3 separate regions of the Homo sapiens genome follow, and all the other regions are linked to region 2. Evidence: promoter capture Hi-C in 16 types of primary human blood cells and fetal thymus (Javierre and others, 2016). All regions are on one chromosome and are shown on one strand. The core of a region is centred on a gene start or on the middle of the fragment in contact, and the rest is flanking DNA. Distances in the headings are between cores, read along the strand shown.

Region 1 (2,700 bases), core at 125-2,624, 300 kb after region 2:
AACTAAGAAGGGAGGTTGGAAAGTGTGTGCAGGATGAAGCATGCCCATACATCCTGGCTTTTATCTCCTCATGGGAAGGAGAATTCCCAAATCTGCTGCCTTCATCTGTAACCCAAGTGTAGGAATGATTTAGAGAGGTGAGTCTATGGGAGAAAGAATGGTAAGGAGAGACGAAAGAAGCTCTGAGGCCCTCTAGTTTTTGGCTGATATGTTTTTTTTTTCAGAGGAATGATTTAACTCAGGAACAGCCTCAAATAGCATCTTCATTTATAGTAGCAAGCTGACTAATTTTCTTCAGAATCCATTTAGGGTTTCTGTTACCAAGGTAGGCTTGAAAGTGTAGCTTCAGGTGAGAACACTTACTCACAGATGCTGAAAGTGAGAAATATTACATTTTTATCTCCACATAATTACTATGTGTGTCTTCACAATTCTATATTAATAGTATAGTGAAACATAGGGAGAAAGCATGCACTCATGAACAGGAAATGTTTGATCTTACAACATTTTCCATGTGTTTATAAAGGGTGTGTGTATGTGTGTGTGTAGAGTAATAACTCTAGAAAACATCTAGAAATATAGATATGCTTTTGACAAAGAAGTAACTGTTTTGATTGCTTAGAATAGAGTTAATTGTGAGGCCCCAAATAAATATAGCTTAAGAAATACAAAATGAAGCCATATCTAGTCCTTAGTTCAGATCTCAAATATTTAGTCATTAATGAATGATTTTTGATGGGAATTTATGACAGTGTTCCAGATTCACAACATGATTCTCTAGGCTTTCAATTATTTTCTCTTTCAACCGTAAGAGCTATTTTAGCTGATTTTTATTATTATTACTCTCTTCTGCTTGTCAGCCTGAGAGTTTGCATAATGAAAACAGCCAATGTGTGTCATGAATCATTTGCATATAAATCCTGACAAATCCAACACAGGGCTACAAAAACTGGTCGTATACAAAAGATGGGTTGGACTTATAAAATAAACACAATTCACAAATTAAGTAATCATGTAATTCACTCCTTGTTTTTTCTGATTTTTTTTTTTTTTCCAGAACCGAATGGAGGAAAGCAAGGCTCTCTTTAGAACAATTATCACATACCCCTGGTTCCAGAACTCCTCGGTTATTCTGTTCTTAAACAAGAAAGATCTTCTAGAGGAGAAAATCATGTATTCCCATCTAGTCGACTACTTCCCAGAATATGATGGTAAGTCAGCACTCATACCACAGCTCAGTAGCTGTGAATAGGTTTTGTCTCCAAACCCCAGTGTGGGAGTTAACGCACTACAGTGCACCATTGCTGCCCTTGCCCTGTGCAGCCTGCGTGTTGAAACTGATACAGTAGGAATTCTTGTTTGCCCTGTCTTTTAGTGACACAAAACATTGCATTCCTTAACAATGCTAAAAGTCATAGAAAAAGAAACTCATGGCTGGGCACAGTGGCGAGCGCCTGTAATCCCAGCACTTTGGGAGGCCGAGGCAGGCGGATCACGAGGTCAAGCGATCGAGACCATCCTGGTCAACATGGTGAAACCCCGTTTCTACTAAAAATATAAAAATTAGCTGGGCGTGGTGGCAGGCACCTGTAGTCCCAGCTTCTCGGGAGGCTGAGGCAGGAGAATTGCTTGAACCCGGGAGGCGGAGGTTGCAGTGAGCCAAGATCGCGCCACTGCACTCCAGCCTGGCAACAGAGCAAGACTCTGTCTAAAAAAAAAAGAAAAGAAACTCATCTGCTTTGAAATAGCAGATCAGAAAAAGGAACAATCCAGTAGTTTTGACCAATTGTGTATTAACTCTTATAGTCCCCTCTGTGTCTCCCTTTCATTTGGTTACCGTCCACCTCTGCCTCTCCTCTCTCTGGGGAGGAACACAATTTTGAAGTTAAGAGCCCACCACTGAAATCAGTCTATCAAGGTTGAGATCCCAGTTCTGACACTTCCTATTTGTAGAACTACCATCAAGTCACTTGATTTTTCTGGGCCTTACGACCAAACTCATAGGATTGTTTTGTGCACTGTAGTATATAACATATGTGTACGTTTAGCATGATGCCTGACACGTAGGACACTTATGAATACTCAGGAAATACTTCCTTTTTTGAAACTTCATAGCCCAATGAAGTCCCACCACCATTACTAATAGTAACCCAGTGTTAAGCTCTTTGTGCAGCACTTAGAATCTATAGCATCCACTTCACTACTCCTATGGCTCTGCATTATTTGCTTTGTTCTTAGAAAAGGATCTTACCCTCCCCAACTAGACTGTGAAATCCTGGACAACTAGACACCCAACCCATTCTGAGAAACACTTGAACACTTGGTGATTGGTAACAAAATGCATCCACATGTAGCCACTATGTAAAACAAGTGAGAGTCACGACTGCTGCCCTATAAGAGTCTATGTGGCCAGGTGTGGTGATTCACACCTGTAATCCCAGCACTTTGGGAGACTGAGGTGAGAGGATCACTTGAGCACAGGAGTTCAAGCCCAGCCTGGGCAATGTAACGAGACCTCTATCTATAAAAAATGAGGCAGGAGTTGGCAAGAGGTCAAGACTGCAATGAGCCATGATCCTGCCACTATACTCCTGCCTGGGTGATGGGAGACCCTGTCTCAAAAAAAAAAAAAAAAAAGTTTATTTATTTGGCAAGATAATCACATCTCTCCCTTATGGCCCACCACCTGGTTTTATGAAT
Region 2 (2,700 bases), core at 12-2,511:
TCAATCACATATTGCAAATCAAAAAAACTAGAATGCCGTTTTGCTGGGGCCTCCTTAGTTTCTCTTCTATTTCATTCTTTCCTTTCCTTTTATTCCACATTATTTTACATTTTCCCATAAGTCATCCATAATTCAATCTCAGTCTAGAAGAGTAAATTCGATTACTCGGCGGCTAAACATCGTGTGCCTTCTCAGAAACAAGAGAACTTGTAAAACAAAAACAAAAACAACTTAAAAAAACAAAAACAACCAACAACCACCAAAAAAACAAAGGCATGAAAAGTTGGAACCTATCGGGAGGCTCTTGGAAACTTGGGCAGCTTCCTTTCTCTGTTCAGGATTTAGATTTCTATCTCACGTTACTTTGCGAACAGCTTCGCCTGTGAATCTCCCCCTACACCTCTGGGCACCGGTGCCAATTCCTTCCCTTCCCTTCCCCAGTAGCCCCACACAGTATAGAGGAGCTTATTTTCTAAGACTGCACCGGTGTCAGAGGTGACGTGAGAGTTTCTAACCGAATGGCGTTTTAGAAATAGGAACGGGAAACACAGAAACGGCTGAGGAGCGACCCCGTGGAGCAGACAGGCACAGCCCGGGAGCGGCGGACGCCAGCGCCGGCGCCGCAGGGAGCGCGTGCGGGGCTCCGCGGGGCCGCCTCCCGCGACTTCAGCAGGGGCCGCGGCCGCGCTCCCGGGCCGGTGGGCTGAGGCAGGCAGAGGCCGCCATATTCCTGTCTCACCACGCCCGGCCGGACGGCAGCCGCAGGTCGGCTGCGGCCCTGGCACGCAACGGCGGCCGCCGGCTCGGGCTGCGCGTCGGCGGCCGGGTCTGGCCCCGACTTCGGCCGGGGGCGGCCGTGACTGCTGCGCCCGCGGACTCTGCCGAGGGTGCGGGAGCAGTAGGCGTCCGCAGAGCCCGCGGGGGCCGGCCCAGCCCGGGAGCCGCGCGGGCGAGGCGAGAGCCGCACTGGGAGGCGCGCCGCGGCGGCCGCGAGCCCAGGAAAGCCTTCCAGGAGGGGCCGGGCGGCACCGCCTCCCGGCTCCCTCCTCCCGCGCCCATCCCCTCCGCCTCTTCCTCCTCCTCCTTTCGCCGCCGCCTCCTCCCTCCCGGATCTGTGCTCCAGTTCAGAGAAAGAAGAAAATGTGTGTGTGTGGCGAGGGGGAGGGCTCGCACTGAGCAGCCGCTCCGCGCCTGGCAATCGGGGCAGGGGGTGGGCGTCTGGCGGGGGCGGGGGCGGAGGCGGAGGCGGAGGAGCGCGCGGTTGCCGGGCGGGACGGGAACCGGGTCTGCGCGCGAGCCGGGCGGTGGGCGCGGACAGGGCCGAGGGCGCCCGGGAGCCGTGTCAGGCGGCGGCGAGGAGCGGGCGCGCCGGGCGCGGGGAGCCGTCGGCGGCCGCTCGCTGCGGGGACACCCCGGTGAATGAGCTCTCGCCGCCAGGCGCACGGCGTAGGGGAGCCTCGCAGGCGGCGGCGGCGGCGGCGGCTCGGGGGGCGAGGCGGGCCGCCTGTTCCCGGGGAAGGAGGCGCGGGCGTCTGAGCGAGGCCGGGCGCGGCGGCCTTCTCTCACGCGCCCCCCGAGCCAGCGCCCGCCTCCCGCGCCCGCCTCTCTTCTCCCGTCGGCCCAGACTATCCGCTCCCACCGCGCCCCCGGCCCACCTGGTGGCCCCGGCCCTGGCCGCCGCCCCCGCGGCGGTTCCCGGAGCTCGTCCCGGACGCGCGCCCGGGCGGCGGGGGCTCGGCGGCCACCGCTGCCTCGGGGGAGCGAGGGCGGGAGGGTGTGTGTGCGCGCTGTGAGCAGGGGGTGCCGGCGGGGCTGCAGCGGAGGCACTTTGGAAGAATGACTCTGGAGTCCATCATGGCGTGCTGCCTGAGCGAGGAGGCCAAGGAAGCCCGGCGGATCAACGACGAGATCGAGCGGCAGCTCCGCAGGGACAAGCGGGACGCCCGCCGGGAGCTCAAGCTGCTGCTGCTCGGTGAGTACCGTCCGGGGCCCCGCCGGGCCTCTGCGCCCCCAGCCCACCATCCTTGGCCCTGCGGGGCAGCTGCCTTCGGCGCCCCCGCCCCCCGGCGCCCGCGGTTCGCCCCTACCCTCCCGGGCGCGCCCCCGGCCACTGCCTTCACCCGCGCGGGCGCGCGGGCGCGTTACACACAGACACACACACACACACACACACACACACACACAGCGACACACACACGCAGCACAGGGGTCGGGGCTGCCCTGCCCGGTGCCTTGGCTTGTTCCTTTTCGTGTCCCTGAGGGCTGTACCTTATCTGCTGTGCATCTGCTAAATGGCAGATCACTCCGACCAGAGGCGCGGGGGTGGAAAGGTGGGCAGAGGGGTTGAACTTCCAGTGTCGTGGCCGCGGCACCCCATGGGGTGGTGGCGTGGGGAGCCGTGTGTGTGGCCCAGCGGGTGGCGAGCGGAGCCGGGGCACGTTGGGGGATGGCCTGCGGTGGAGTGGCCGGTGTGCATCCATTATCAGTGCCCTATGGGGTCAGGAGGGAATGGGGGAACGGTGGGCAGACTCGCAGCTGGATTCCCGGAGCACTCATGGTGAGGAAGCCAAGTGGTTGGCCCTCCAAGGAAAGGGTCTGTGTACTGGGGGCGAGGCGGGAGGGCAAGCCCAAATGTGTCACACAAGTGCTGTTCTCTAGCCACCAGACCATCGAAAGGAGGGAGCCTAGAAGAGTTGGCCA
Region 3 (2,700 bases), core at 197-2,696, 320 kb after region 2:
GGCATACTAAAAGGCAAAACAAAACAAACAAACAAAAAAAACGCAGTTTGAAGAGACATAGCAAGCATCAGATCCAGAATCATATATGGCAGGGATGCTGGAATTCTTACAGCAGGAATTTAAAACATTTATTATTAATATGCTAAGGGCTCTAATGGAAAAAGTAGACAACCTGCAAGAACAAATGGGCAATGAAAGCATAAAGGAAGAAATTCTAAGAAAAAAGAAAAGGAATAATAGAAATCAAAAACACTGTAATAGAAATTAAGTATGCCTTTGATGGCTTCGTTAGTAGACTGGACATGGCTGAGGAAAGAATCTTTAAGCCTGAAGATATGTCAGTAGAAACTTCCAAAACTGAAAAGCAGAGAGAGAAGAAAAAAAAAAAAAACACTAAAAAACAAAACAAAGGGTTTCATTTTGGGGTGATAAAAATCCTTAAACTCAGATAGTAGTGACTTCTGCTTTCTGGTCTGGCATATAAGGAGCTTGGCAGTTACAACTCCACCCTAAGAAGAACTAAAAAGCGGAACAAACTGAAAAACCAATAACTCTTCTTAGATCCCTCAGAGAAGTGAAGTCACAGGGTAAACCATTGTCCTCAAACTGGAGAGACAGGCAAATACAGAGAATCACTACTTATGGAAGCAGAAACCCAGGAGAAAAAGCCTCTACCAAAACCAGTGCCAGGATGCAAAAACCTAAACAGTAATTGATGCATTTTGGAAGGTTCAATGTGTACAACTCTGAGAGTTGAAACTCCAGACTACCCAGTCATGGGAGACACTCATACTTTGGCGAGTTTTAATTCCAGGAGCTCAAGCAGGCTCTCACAGTGATTATCAGGGGAAAATCCCCTCATGCTTCTGGTAGAAGGAGGGGGAAATGAAGCATTTTGAAATATGCCAGACCATCCTGTTTGTCTTAACAAGGCCTGTCCTCAAGAGAAACTTTTTTTTTTTTTTTGAGACGAAGTCTTGCTCTGTCACCCAGGCTGGAGTGCAGTGGCGCGATCTCGGCTTACTGCAAGCTCCGCCTCCCAGGTTCACGCCATTCTCCTGCCTCAGCCTCCTGAGTAGCTGGGACTACAGGCACCCACCACCATGCCCGGCTAATTTTTTGTGTGTGTGTGTATGTTTAGTAGAGGCAAGGTTTCACCGTGTTAGCCAGGATGGTCTCGATCTCCTGACCTCGTGATCCACCCAACTCAGCCTCCCAAAGTGTTGGGATTACAGGTGTGAGCCATCACGCCCAACCAAGAGAAACTTTTTATCAGAGCCTAAACTATTCAGATTTTACCAGAGTCTAACCAACCTGGAGAAAGGGAAATACCTAACTGCAGCACACACTGGCCATCCTGTCCTGCTGAAGGACGGGAAGAAGATTGAGAAGCATGTGTAAAGTTCAGAGTCCAGAGGTACAGACTCTCTGTAAGACTGACACTTAATCATAGGAACATAAAAAGCCTCCTTTTCCCCCATGTTACTAAAGGCCTCTATGCAGCAGTTCCTTTCATCTACTGCATCATGAACAGATATCAAGAAAAAAATTACAAGGCATACTAGAAGGAAAAAAACACACAGTATGAAGTGACAGAGCAAGCAAGATGAGACTCAAATATGTCAGGGATGTTGGAATTTTCAGAGTAGAAATTTAAAACAACTATGACTAATATGCTAAGGGCTCTAGTGGATACACAGTAGAGAATGTGTGAGAACAGATGGGAAATGTAGGCACAGAGACTGAAATTCCAAGAAAGCATGAAAAGAAAATGATAGAGATAAAAAACACTTTAACAGAAATAAAGAATGCCTTTGAGTAGTAGGCTAGACATAGACGAGGAAAAAGATGCAGAGTTTGAGAATATCTCAATAGAAACTTCTGAAACTGAAAAGAAAAAAAAAAGACTAAGAAAAAAAGAACAGAATATCCTAGAACTGTGGGGCAACTACAAAAGTTATAATAGGTATAATGGGGATACCACAAGGAGAATAAAGAGAGAAAGAAATAGAAGAAGTTTTTGAAGTAATGAATGATACTTCCCCATTTTCTGCAAATTAATGTTAGACACCAAACCACAGATCTAACAAGCTCAGAGAACACCAAGCAGGATGAATGCCAAAAAACACCCCACAACTACACATATACATATGATATTCAAACTGTGAAAAATCAAAGGTAAAGAAAAAATCTTGAAAGAATCTAGAGGAAAAAAAAGATGTTACCTACAGAGTAGCAATAATTGTCCCTTAGTCTGAATCTTCTGCAGAATGACTTGTGTTTCATAAATAGCTCAAGACTTTCAAAAGCAGATACTTGAAATCATGAGTTCTCCAAGAAATAGATGTGTTTTGAGAAAATAAATGATGTGGACAGCAAACTATGCGAAGCACATTCTTTAAGCATTAGTGCAGTCGAGTGATGATGAAACACCAAATGGACCAAGTGCACACTGACTTCTACCTATTGGCTTCCTGCCCCACCATGACACAGGCCTTGCTTTCAGCTAAGCCTGCAAGCTGCTCTTGTAACCCTAACCTTCCTGATGTCAATTATCCAGTAAAATAATACTCAAGTGGATATCAAAATTAATACCTTCCTTTCGTGGACATATTGTTTCTACCCTGTATTGTCTCTCGGAATCAGTCATCCTGAATACAAATATTAAAGATTTTGTTCCTCAGTCATTCCCCTAGTTCA

The links. Contacts are between HindIII fragments. The CHiCAGO score rates a contact against its expected background, and 5 or more counts as called.
Region 1: a fragment that was not itself captured here is called in contact with the fragment with the promoter of GNAQ in region 2 in 5 of 17 cell types (total CD4 T cells, activated CD4 T cells, fetal thymus and 2 more); the score reaches 6.7 in total CD4 T cells.
Region 3: a contact is called between a fragment that was not itself captured here and the fragment with the promoter of GNAQ in region 2, in 2 of 17 cell types (neutrophils and monocytes). The highest score is 7.2, in neutrophils.

The regions. Positions count from the first base shown.
Region 1 is chr9:77,727,025-77,729,724 of GRCh38, reverse strand. It overlaps GNAQ (G protein subunit alpha q), which reads left to right. Exons shown (of 7, transcript NM_002072.5): 6 at 1,058-1,211. Among named protein-coding and RNA genes, the nearest start is that of GNA14, 80 kb to the right of the region's middle. The HindIII fragment of the contact is 3,517 bases long and covers 1-2,700 here.
Region 2 is chr9:78,030,372-78,033,071 of GRCh38, reverse strand. GNAQ (G protein subunit alpha q) reads left to right here and starts at 1,261. Exons shown (of 7, transcript NM_002072.5): 1 at 1,261-1,972. The coding sequence starts at 1,837. RefSeq lists an enhancer at 1,178-2,072. The HindIII fragment of the contact is 11,535 bases long and covers 1-2,700 here.
Region 3 is chr9:77,707,608-77,710,307 of GRCh38, reverse strand. No RefSeq gene overlaps it. Among named protein-coding and RNA genes, the nearest start is that of GNA14, 61 kb to the right of the region's middle. RefSeq lists enhancers at 574-623, 2,281-2,575. The HindIII fragment of the contact is 4,148 bases long and covers 1-2,700 here.